Regions from separate parts of the Homo sapiens genome. Here region 1 is linked to region 2. Evidence: promoter capture Hi-C in 16 types of primary human blood cells and fetal thymus (Javierre and others, 2016). All regions are on one chromosome and are shown on one strand. The core of a region is centred on a gene start or on the middle of the fragment in contact, and the rest is flanking DNA. Distances in the headings are between cores, read along the strand shown.

Evidence for each region. Contacts are between HindIII fragments. The CHiCAGO score rates a contact against its expected background, and 5 or more counts as called.
Region 1: the fragment with the promoter of SYNPO2L-AS1 here is called in contact with a fragment that was not itself captured in region 2 in 1 of 17 cell types (endothelial precursors); the score reaches 5.1 in endothelial precursors.

Annotation. Positions count from the first base shown.
Region 1 is chr10:73,652,323-73,656,701 of GRCh38, forward strand. It overlaps SYNPO2L-AS1 (SYNPO2L antisense RNA 1), which reads left to right and starts at 1,717. Exons shown (of 3, transcript NR_187519.1): 1 at 1,717-1,984. It overlaps SYNPO2L (synaptopodin 2 like), which reads right to left and starts at 3,707. Exons shown (of 4, transcript NM_001114133.3): 1 at 3,496-3,707; 2 at 1,807-1,958; 3 at 817-1,331. The coding sequence starts at 3,600. RefSeq lists a silencer at 3,649-3,943. The HindIII fragment of the contact is 5,539 bases long and covers 1-2,567 here.
Region 2 is chr10:73,444,706-73,449,406 of GRCh38, forward strand. PPP3CB (protein phosphatase 3 catalytic subunit beta) reads right to left here. Exons shown (of 14, transcript NM_021132.4): 11 at 1,787-1,868; 12 at 20-117. Among named protein-coding and RNA genes, the nearest start is that of MSS51, 13 kb to the left of the region's middle. The HindIII fragment of the contact is 2,027 bases long and covers 335-2,361 here.

The DNA of each region.
Region 1 (4,379 bases), core at 467-2,966, 210 kb after region 2:
TAAAATTTTTACTGGAGACGAAGTCTCACGATGTTGTCCAGGCTGGTCTCAAACTCCTGGCTTCTGCCGGGCATGGTGGCTCACGCCTGTAATCCCAGCACTTTGGGAGGCCGAGGTAGGCATATCACCTGAGGTCAGGAGTTCGAGACCAGCCTGACCAGTATGGTGAAACCCCATCTCTACTAAAAATACAAAAAATTAGCCAGGTGTGGTGGCGGGTGCCTATAATCCCAGCTACTCGGGAGGCAGAGGCTGGAGAATCGCTTGAACCCGGGAGGCGGAGGTTGCAATGAGCCAAGATCACGCCATTGCATTCCAGCCTAGGCACAAGAGCCAAACTCCATCTCAAAAAAACAAAAAACAAAACAAAACAAAAATCCTGCGTTCATGCTATCCTCCCACCTCAGCCTCCCAAAGTGCTTGGATTACAGGTATGAGCCACCTTGCCCCGCCTTCAACCTGCTTTTAAATACTCCCCTGTCCTGTGTCTGTACTCTGCTTTCACCCAATCATGACACACAATAACAATTATCACCACCACCAAACCCTTCATCTATTTGTGTCCCTTTCCAATTTCCCTACTTACCCTGTTCCTGGGTTGAACTGAATCACCTTACCCTTTTGCCACATTGGTTCAAACAGCAAAAATAATGGTGGCCATGAGAATAATTATGCTCCCCTTCTACTCATTACCCCTCCTGTCCCCAAGACTGTATCCAAGGGTCCCAAGGTAGGGAGAATGTACGGCTATAGAAGGCTGGATTTAAGGCTCAGATTGAAGGATCCTGGCTGGGGAAAAGGGGTTCAGGCACTCACTGGCTTGCTTGGCCTTCTGGGTGTAGGTGGTAGTAAGATCTTCTGCCACTGGGTGGGGAACAGGCCCCACCATAGGGATGAGATGAGGACCAGGTCGGAGGGGGCCATGGGGTAACAGCAGAGCCTCAGCTGGGGGTGGCTGAAGGGCTGCCCCATCCTCCCAAGACGGGGAGCTCACACGGCTGTCACCCTGGCTGGGAGGGCCAGGGATAGTAGGTGCTGGCTCTGCAGGGCTGTCAGACAGGTAGACCTCATCAGGTGGGGCACCCGGAGGGGTGGGCCTTGTGGGGCCTCGGCGGCGAGGTCGACGGGGCTTCTCCTGGGTGGCAGGGCCATCAGCATCACTGTCAGTCTCTCCGTAGTAAGCCTCACTATCAGGAGGTGAACGAAGGCTCCCAGGCTGAAGAGGCTGAGGAACTGGAGCACCAGGGGGCTCAGGACTTAGTGGAGATAAGGGTGACAGCACCTGAAGCTCATGGGGAGATGGAGATTGCACAGGACCCTCGTCTGCTAACCTGGATAGGAAAGATGACAGAGCTTGAGAGATGGGCTGGGTACTGACAGCTAGAGAGATCTGGAAGGGATGGAGGGAAGAGGTAAGGGGGAGGGAAGAGGTAAGGGAGAGAGAAGGCTGTCATACAGTTGGAATGGGTGGGCCGGGAAGAGTGGAGATATGAAGACAAACTGGGAGGCAAATGTGCTTGAAGGGCTGTGAGTGGAAATAGGCTTAGAGGAAGATGTAATGAGGAGGAAACAGGCCAGGGGTTGAAGTAGGCTCATCAGTCAAATACCCACTGACATCCCCATCCCTTAATTGCAGATACATTCAAGCCCTCTGGGAGGCAGACACAAACCATCTGCACTCCAGCAGAAACGCACGAGCAGAAATAGGTACCTGTTAGTTGCTAAAGCCAGGCCAGTGAGACATAGAGCTGAGACAGGCAATGGGAGCCCTGGATTAGGGGAAGAGAAGAGGAGAGAGGTCCATACCGCTGCACAGTGAGGACAAGCTGATTTCCTGAGGCATCGATGAGGCTCATGGCACTGGCATGGGAGAGGTTGGTGCAAGAGACCCCATTGATTGCCAAGAGCTGGTCCCTCTCTCGGAGTCCTGCTCTGCCAGCCTGGCTCCGTCTTCGAATCTGAGATGTTGAAGGAGACACTGTAGGTAAGAGGGGGCTCCAAAGGGAATAGAATGAAAGGAAAAGATGGGAAGGACCCACAGGAGGGGATTTTACTTTGCAGGGTAAGAAGGGTGGGGAGATGCATGGAAGTGGCTGCAGTTGAAGTGGCCTGTCTAGAGGGAAGAAAGTATACAGACTGGAGAAAGAAATACATCATATGGTGGGAAATAGGGTAACCATTGAATGAAAGAGGCTTGGGAAGAACTGCATGGGGTAGGTAACTAGAAATGGTGGTTATTGGCTGGGTGCAGTGGCTCACGCCTGTAAGCCCAGTGCTTTGGGAGGCCTAGGTGGGTGGATCACTTGAGATCAGGAGTTTGAGACCAGCCTGGCCAATGGGTGAAACGCTGTCTCTACTAAAAGTACAAAAATCAGCTGGCCGTGGTGGTGTGCGCCTGTAATCCCAGATACTTGGGAGGCTGAGGCAGGAGAATTGCTTGAACCCAGGAAGCAGAGGTTGCAGTGAGCCATCATGTCACTGCACTCCAGCCTGGGCAACAGAGTAAGACTCTGTCGCAAAAAAAAAGAAAAGAAAAAAAACGGAAAGAAATGGTGATTATCTCCACAAGCTTTTTCTCCAAGGGCAATATCTATATTGGCTGGTAATTCTCTACTAGGCCTTGTAACCCCAGGCGCCATTACACAGTCAAGATTTTAGAACAGTACTCCAGGTTGGAGGGAGTCCAGCGGTATTCTGGGAGATTGTGATTATTTGGGTATATGTGTGCCATGTATACACACAAATGTATATATGCCAAAGTAATAATAGTAGTAGTGGCTACCATTTATTGAGTTCTTACTAAGTGTTGGGCACTGTGCTACATGTATTATTGCATTTAATCCTTAGAATGGTTCCATGAAGTAGGTACAGGTACTATTATTACCCACATTTTACAGTTCGGAAAACTAAGCCTGTAGGGTGAAACCAAAAGGATAATGACTTCATCTGTGAGGCCAGATCTTGCCATAACCCTCCTAGCACCTAAAAAAGTCTTGCCTAGTGAGAGAAAGGATCTGACCTAGGGAAAGAGCACTGAAGGCATGGGCAGGGCAGGGTGAGGCAGGGTAGGGCTGGGCTGGGCTAGGCTGTTCGAGGCAGTTTCAGTTCATCACATATCAGTTTAGTCAGAGAGAAATTAGAACCTTCCCCGTATTTCTGGAGTTTGGAGTAGAGGCACATACCCAAGAGAACAAACACTGGATGACCAGAGCTGGGCCTCTGATACCACAGTGCTGCAGGGAACTGAAGCAGAGCCTTTCCTTTTCCTCTGCTCCCTGGAAACCGCGAATTCTCTTTTCTAATAGACCCCCACAGGAAGCCTGTGGTCAGACGCTACTCCCACTATGAGACTTGAGCATACTTCCCTGCCCACCACCCACCCCATCTTCACAGCCTCCCACCCCCCCAACCCCCGCCATATGCCACCACACATCTCTTCCCAGGATCCCTTGGGTTCCCTTTCCCTGAAGCCTCATTTCAGGGGCTCTCCCTTACCTTAGACACCTGTAACGGTTTCCTCTGCTCGGCCCCCCCATGAAGTCGGAAGCCCCAGGGGGCTCCCCCTGATAGTGTGACCAGCACCTCCTCCTCAGCACCCATCGCTCAGCTTGGCCTATGGCCCCCGGAGTTTGAACAGTGTCCCCAGGAGAGAAGTTGAGGTGCTCGAACCCCGTCTGGGCTTCCTGTCCGGCTGTCCTGCTCCTGCTGCCCCAGGCCTCCCCCCCACACCACACACCACAGGCAGGCAACTTGGCCCTGGGATCATTACAGTCCAGCACACATGTCCCGTCAATCGCAGATGTGCTCAAAATAGATGCCGCTTGTACTCCCCTCCCTCCCCCTTCTGTGTTACTCCTAGAGCTAATTATAGTACAAACTTCTGCCCTCCATGTTCCCAATTCTCCTGCATGGGCCTTTTATTCAGGACTCAGAATACAAACTCTCTGGGCTCTATAACCAATGTACACCCTTTCAGGAACTGTGCCTTCTCTAATAGGACCATGGGCTAATCTCAACTGCTTTCCTCCAAAGACCCTTTCAAAGTGGCAGCAGCAGGGGCTTCAATTCCATAGCTGGCAAAGAATGGCTGGGCTTGCTCCAAGATCCCAGGAAAGAATGCACTCTCGCTATATAAATTTATCTGTTAATTAATAAATGGTGGGCCAGGCATGGTGGCTCACGCCTGTAATCCTAGCACTTTGGGAGGCCAAGGTGGGTGGATTGCTTGAGTCCAGGAATTTGAGACCAGCCTGGGCAACATCGTGAGATGGCCCCCCATCTCTATTTTCTTATTATTAAAAAAAGTTAAAAAAAAAAACCAAAAAACTATAGGCTGGGCACGGTGGCTCACACCTGTAAACCCAGCACTTTGGGACCAA
Region 2 (4,701 bases), core at 98-2,597:
AGTTGCATAACATCATTACCACTTTGCAGGGTCTGCCGTCCTCCAGCTAACACTCCACTAGGCAACATCCCTGTGGGAGTCAGGCCCTTGAGTGTCAGCACACTTTCACTCTCCTCCCTATAGCAGAGAGATATAACAAATATCAGATACTTCCAACAAGTACTTAATTTAAAAGAAGACATAGGGTCTAGATATAGGCCATATATAAAATTCATGACATTCATTGCTATTACCATATTTTCCTCAATTTCAAGACATTAATTTTTCTATATTTTAAGTGTTTCAGGTATGAGGGTGTGCCTTACCATTGAGGCATATATTGTTTTTCCTGAAAAGCTTTATTAAATATGTGGTAAGATTCATCAAGGGGCATCATACTATTGAGAAAATATGGTATTTCATATGCTCTGAAGTTCAAATGTCTGATGTAGTCAGTTGTGCAAACAAATTTTTAAAGACTGACCTATTCATTTGTACCCTTTAACCTGGTCTTCCTGAATTAACCCCAGGGAAGGCAATTTATGGCTCCAGCACAAGGGACTTCCTATATGGATGAACAAGTTCATCAAGAATACTCTAAAAAGTATCCCCTCCTTCTTATCCTGCTCTAATTTTCAAGGTGTGAATTTAGTGTTATCACAAACGGAAAAGAGATACCAAAGATGAGCAATAACAATCACCAGAGTCAAAAATCTTAGCTTCAAAGGGACTTGTGTTCCCATCTTCAGTATACAAATATATAAACTTCTTTTTCTTTTTGAGACAAGGTCTCACTCCGTCACCCAGGCTGGAGTGCAGCGGCACAATCACGGCTCACTACTCACAACTTCCTGGGGCTCAGGTGATCCTCCCATCTCAGCCTCCCGAGTAGCTGGGACCACAGGTGCATGCCACCAGGCCCGGCTAATTTTTGTATTCTTTTTTGTGGAGATGGGGTTTCGCCATGTTTCCTAGCCTGGTCTTGAACTCCGCCCGCTTTGGCCTCCCAAAGTGTTGGGATTACAGGCGTGAGCCACTGCACCCAGCCTAAGGGCCTAAGTACCCTTTTTTTTTTTTTTTCTGAGACAGAGTCTCACTCTGTCACCCAGGCTGGAGTGCAGTGGCGTCATCTCAGATCACTGCAACCTCCACCTCCCGAGTTCAAGTGATTCTCCTGCCTCAGCCTCCCGAGTAGCTGGGACTACAGGCATGCACCACCACATCCAGTTAATTTTTCTATTTTTAGTAGAGACAGGGTTTCACCATGTTGGCCAGGATGGTCTCAATCTCTTGACCTCGTGATCCACCTGCCTTGGCCTCCCAAAGTGCTGGGATTACAGGCGTGAGCCACCACGCCTGGCCAGGCCTAAGTAACTTCTTTATAGGAAGAATGATACCCTGTTGCTTGTTGCTTTTTTTCTTTCTTTTTTTTTTTTTTTAGACAGAGCCTTGCTCAGTCGCCCAGTCTGGAGTGGCGCAGTCTCGGCTCACCGCAACTTCTGCCTCCTGGGTTCAAGCAATTCTTGTGCCTCAGCTTCCCGAGTAGCTGGGATTACAGGTGCATGCCACCACGCCCGGCTAATTTTTGTATATTTAGTAGAGATGGGGATTCACTATGTTGGCCAGGCTGGTTTCAAACTCCTGACCTCAGGTGATCCGCCCGCCTTGGCATCCCAAAATGCTGAGATTACAGGAGTGTGCCACCATACCCGGCCCCATTTTGCTTTTAGATGCGGGACAATGCTTGTAACAAGGTACAATAAACGTAATTTCTGCAAAACAAATAATCAAGAAAATATATCATTACCTGAGAACAGAGAAGACTCTTGCCATCTTGCCAATTGCTCGAATTTTGTTTCTTATGATTTCTTTCCGGGCTGCAGCTGAACCTACTTTCAATGGAATAAATAGAGAGAAAGGCTCAAGTTTAGGGCATGCATGCTTACAATATTCTATTAGCCTGTTCCACACTCATCTAAACCAGTACCAAGACCCCTGCCACCAGCTTACATGGAGGGGACTAGATGAACTCATGCTAAAAAATGTCTTGCTCTCTCAATGTTTAGCTCAGCATTGGTCTAATACTGGGGTCTGATAAATATAGAAATAAAAAGTAATCCACAAACTTTAATATTTCACTCTACTGGCTAATCAGTAAAACAGCAATGGGGAAAAAAAAACAAACAAACTTGAGCCCAACTTGCATTACAAACCAGAGGGCAAAAACTGATAATAATCCTATAGTCTCTGTTTAATTTTCATGACAGCCTATGGCATGCAGACTAACAGACAAGAATTTCTAACAGTCCTGTAGTCTTATTTAACTATCACAAAGTATTTGACATGCAGGCTGACAATATCCCATCAGACTATGACAGAATAAGCTTCTTTGCTTTGAGTTGGTCTAAAATGAATGGCATGAAGGAGCTACTGTGCAGGTAATCCTGAACTAAGGGCCATACCAGCATTTCAACAATGCACCAGGTGCCTAATGTACCAGGTGCTCCTAAGGTCATGCAAATATATACAATCTTTTACATCTCTAGGTGAGTATGACATAAGCAACAAGAAAAACATGGCTAAAGGATCACTACTGCTTCATCTCTAAAGGGTTAGCTGTGCTGTCTACAACTGATGTAGAAGAGAATAAACCAAAATAACTAAATCCTTGGCTGAAGAATGACTCAAAGGTTTTATCTTCCTTCCCTTGGCCTCCAGAAAGAACAACATCAATCTCAGTCCTGTTATTTCATATATAGCAACTAGAATCACTCTGGACCCAAAAGTGTGGTTCCTTAGAGCCGTGCTTCAACACAATGAAAACACACATGGAAGCACCATGGTTGAGGAGAAGGTTAAGGAAAGGCTAAAGACACTAATTCAAAAGGGGCCTTAGGTATACAGAGGTCTGAACAACTGTAAGTCTTCTGGGAGAGAACATCTCATTTAAAATTCAAGCAGTCCACAATTACATATAATTAAAAACTAAGATAATGACTGGATCTGACTGCAAGAAAAGAGAAAAAGAAATCCAACTTGAAAGACAGAAACAAAAGACATATTTTAGGGGAAAAAAATAGGCTCCATGACATGTTTATGATCTTCTAAAGGGTAAATATTATGAGCACTGAAGCTACAGCTTTTACAAGTCCAAAACTGTGTGGGTACCTGGGTACCACAGCACTCTAAACAGGTATTTTTAAAATACCAAAAAAAAAAACCACAAAAAAACCCCCAAAAACTAAAAATATAAGAATCATAGAATATTAGAATTTGAAGAGACAATGGAGATACTATAAAGTGCAATCTCCTCATTTTATAGACAAAGAAACTGAGGTTATTAAGTGACTTGTTCAAGGATAGAAGGTAAGTCTGATTCTCTTCTAATAAATGATTATAAACATTTTGTTTTAAAATTGACAGAATTTTAAAGTAGCTAGACTGGGGATAAGCAGTAGGGTGTTGGGGAGGATGGCTGTAATAAGTACATTCATATTTTCAGATTTAATTTCTATATCTATAAAACCAAATGACATGTAAACTATACTGATATCAAATGAAAAATTCACAGGAATATAAAAACACTGTACAAATCAGGATTTTAAATCAGTCTACAAACACATCATGCATCATATTAAAGTAAATGGTCACAGTAACATTTCTTTGGGAAATAATAGACAATCAAACAACCCTAATCATGCAGGGAAAAGTACAAAACATTACAAATAAGCAAAAGAATGAAATTTTAAAACAGGAATGAAAAGGAGGGAAAATATTTCCATGCACAGAAAGACAGATATCTTGGAATATGACTTCTAAAAATACCAAACACTAACACAGATAAAACTTAAGCTAAATTTGCACAAGGCCCAAGAGGACTCTGCATAGACATTACTCAATGAATGTGCTAACTTACATGGACATGAAGATAACTTATGAAGTCATATTTCAAAACAATGTTACTCTGTCTGGTCTGTACCTTTTTTATTGCCATATATGAGCCGTTCTTCAGATGGAGAGTCCAGAAAAAAGGAAGTGAATGATGGAGAAAAGGTGGTTGGGACAAATAAAAAGATAGAGATTTAACTTGGCAGTGGTACTGAAGAATGAATGTAGAAAGAGAGAAAAATGAAGGCCCTCATATTTGGAAATTTGAAAAATGTAGTACTGTAGAATCTGGTGAATAAAGAGGGATGCAACTAGGTAGAACTCTAAAGTAAAGATTTCTTAAAAGACATGTGCATGGAAGAAATTATGGACAGAATAACTATCATATCTGATGGAAGCAGACATAATTAGGGACAGAAAAAAACATGTGAAAACACATAAGACTGAAAAAAGACTGCTAACAAATATTGCACATTTATAGTCATACCCCTAAGGAAATGTGTCACCTGTGGAAGTATGTTAAGTAAAAGGTAATGACACAAATGAAATACAAACTTGTGTGGTTCTTCAAGGACACCAACATCTGCAAAATCTGTAGTACATTCAGAGAAATGTAGGTAACTTTATAAACTGCCTCAGTAGAAAACCTCACCCCCTCCCAACGAAGGAAAAGCTAAACCTCCCATATTCCCTAACAAGAGCACATGATTTCCTAAATCTGAATTGCAGAACTTTTGCATATACTCAGGAGCAACAGTATGTGCTTTCTGTCCCCAGTCCAATCTGGGAAATTTGGGGGACATCTTTTTGCAAAAATAGCAACAGATTGTTTCA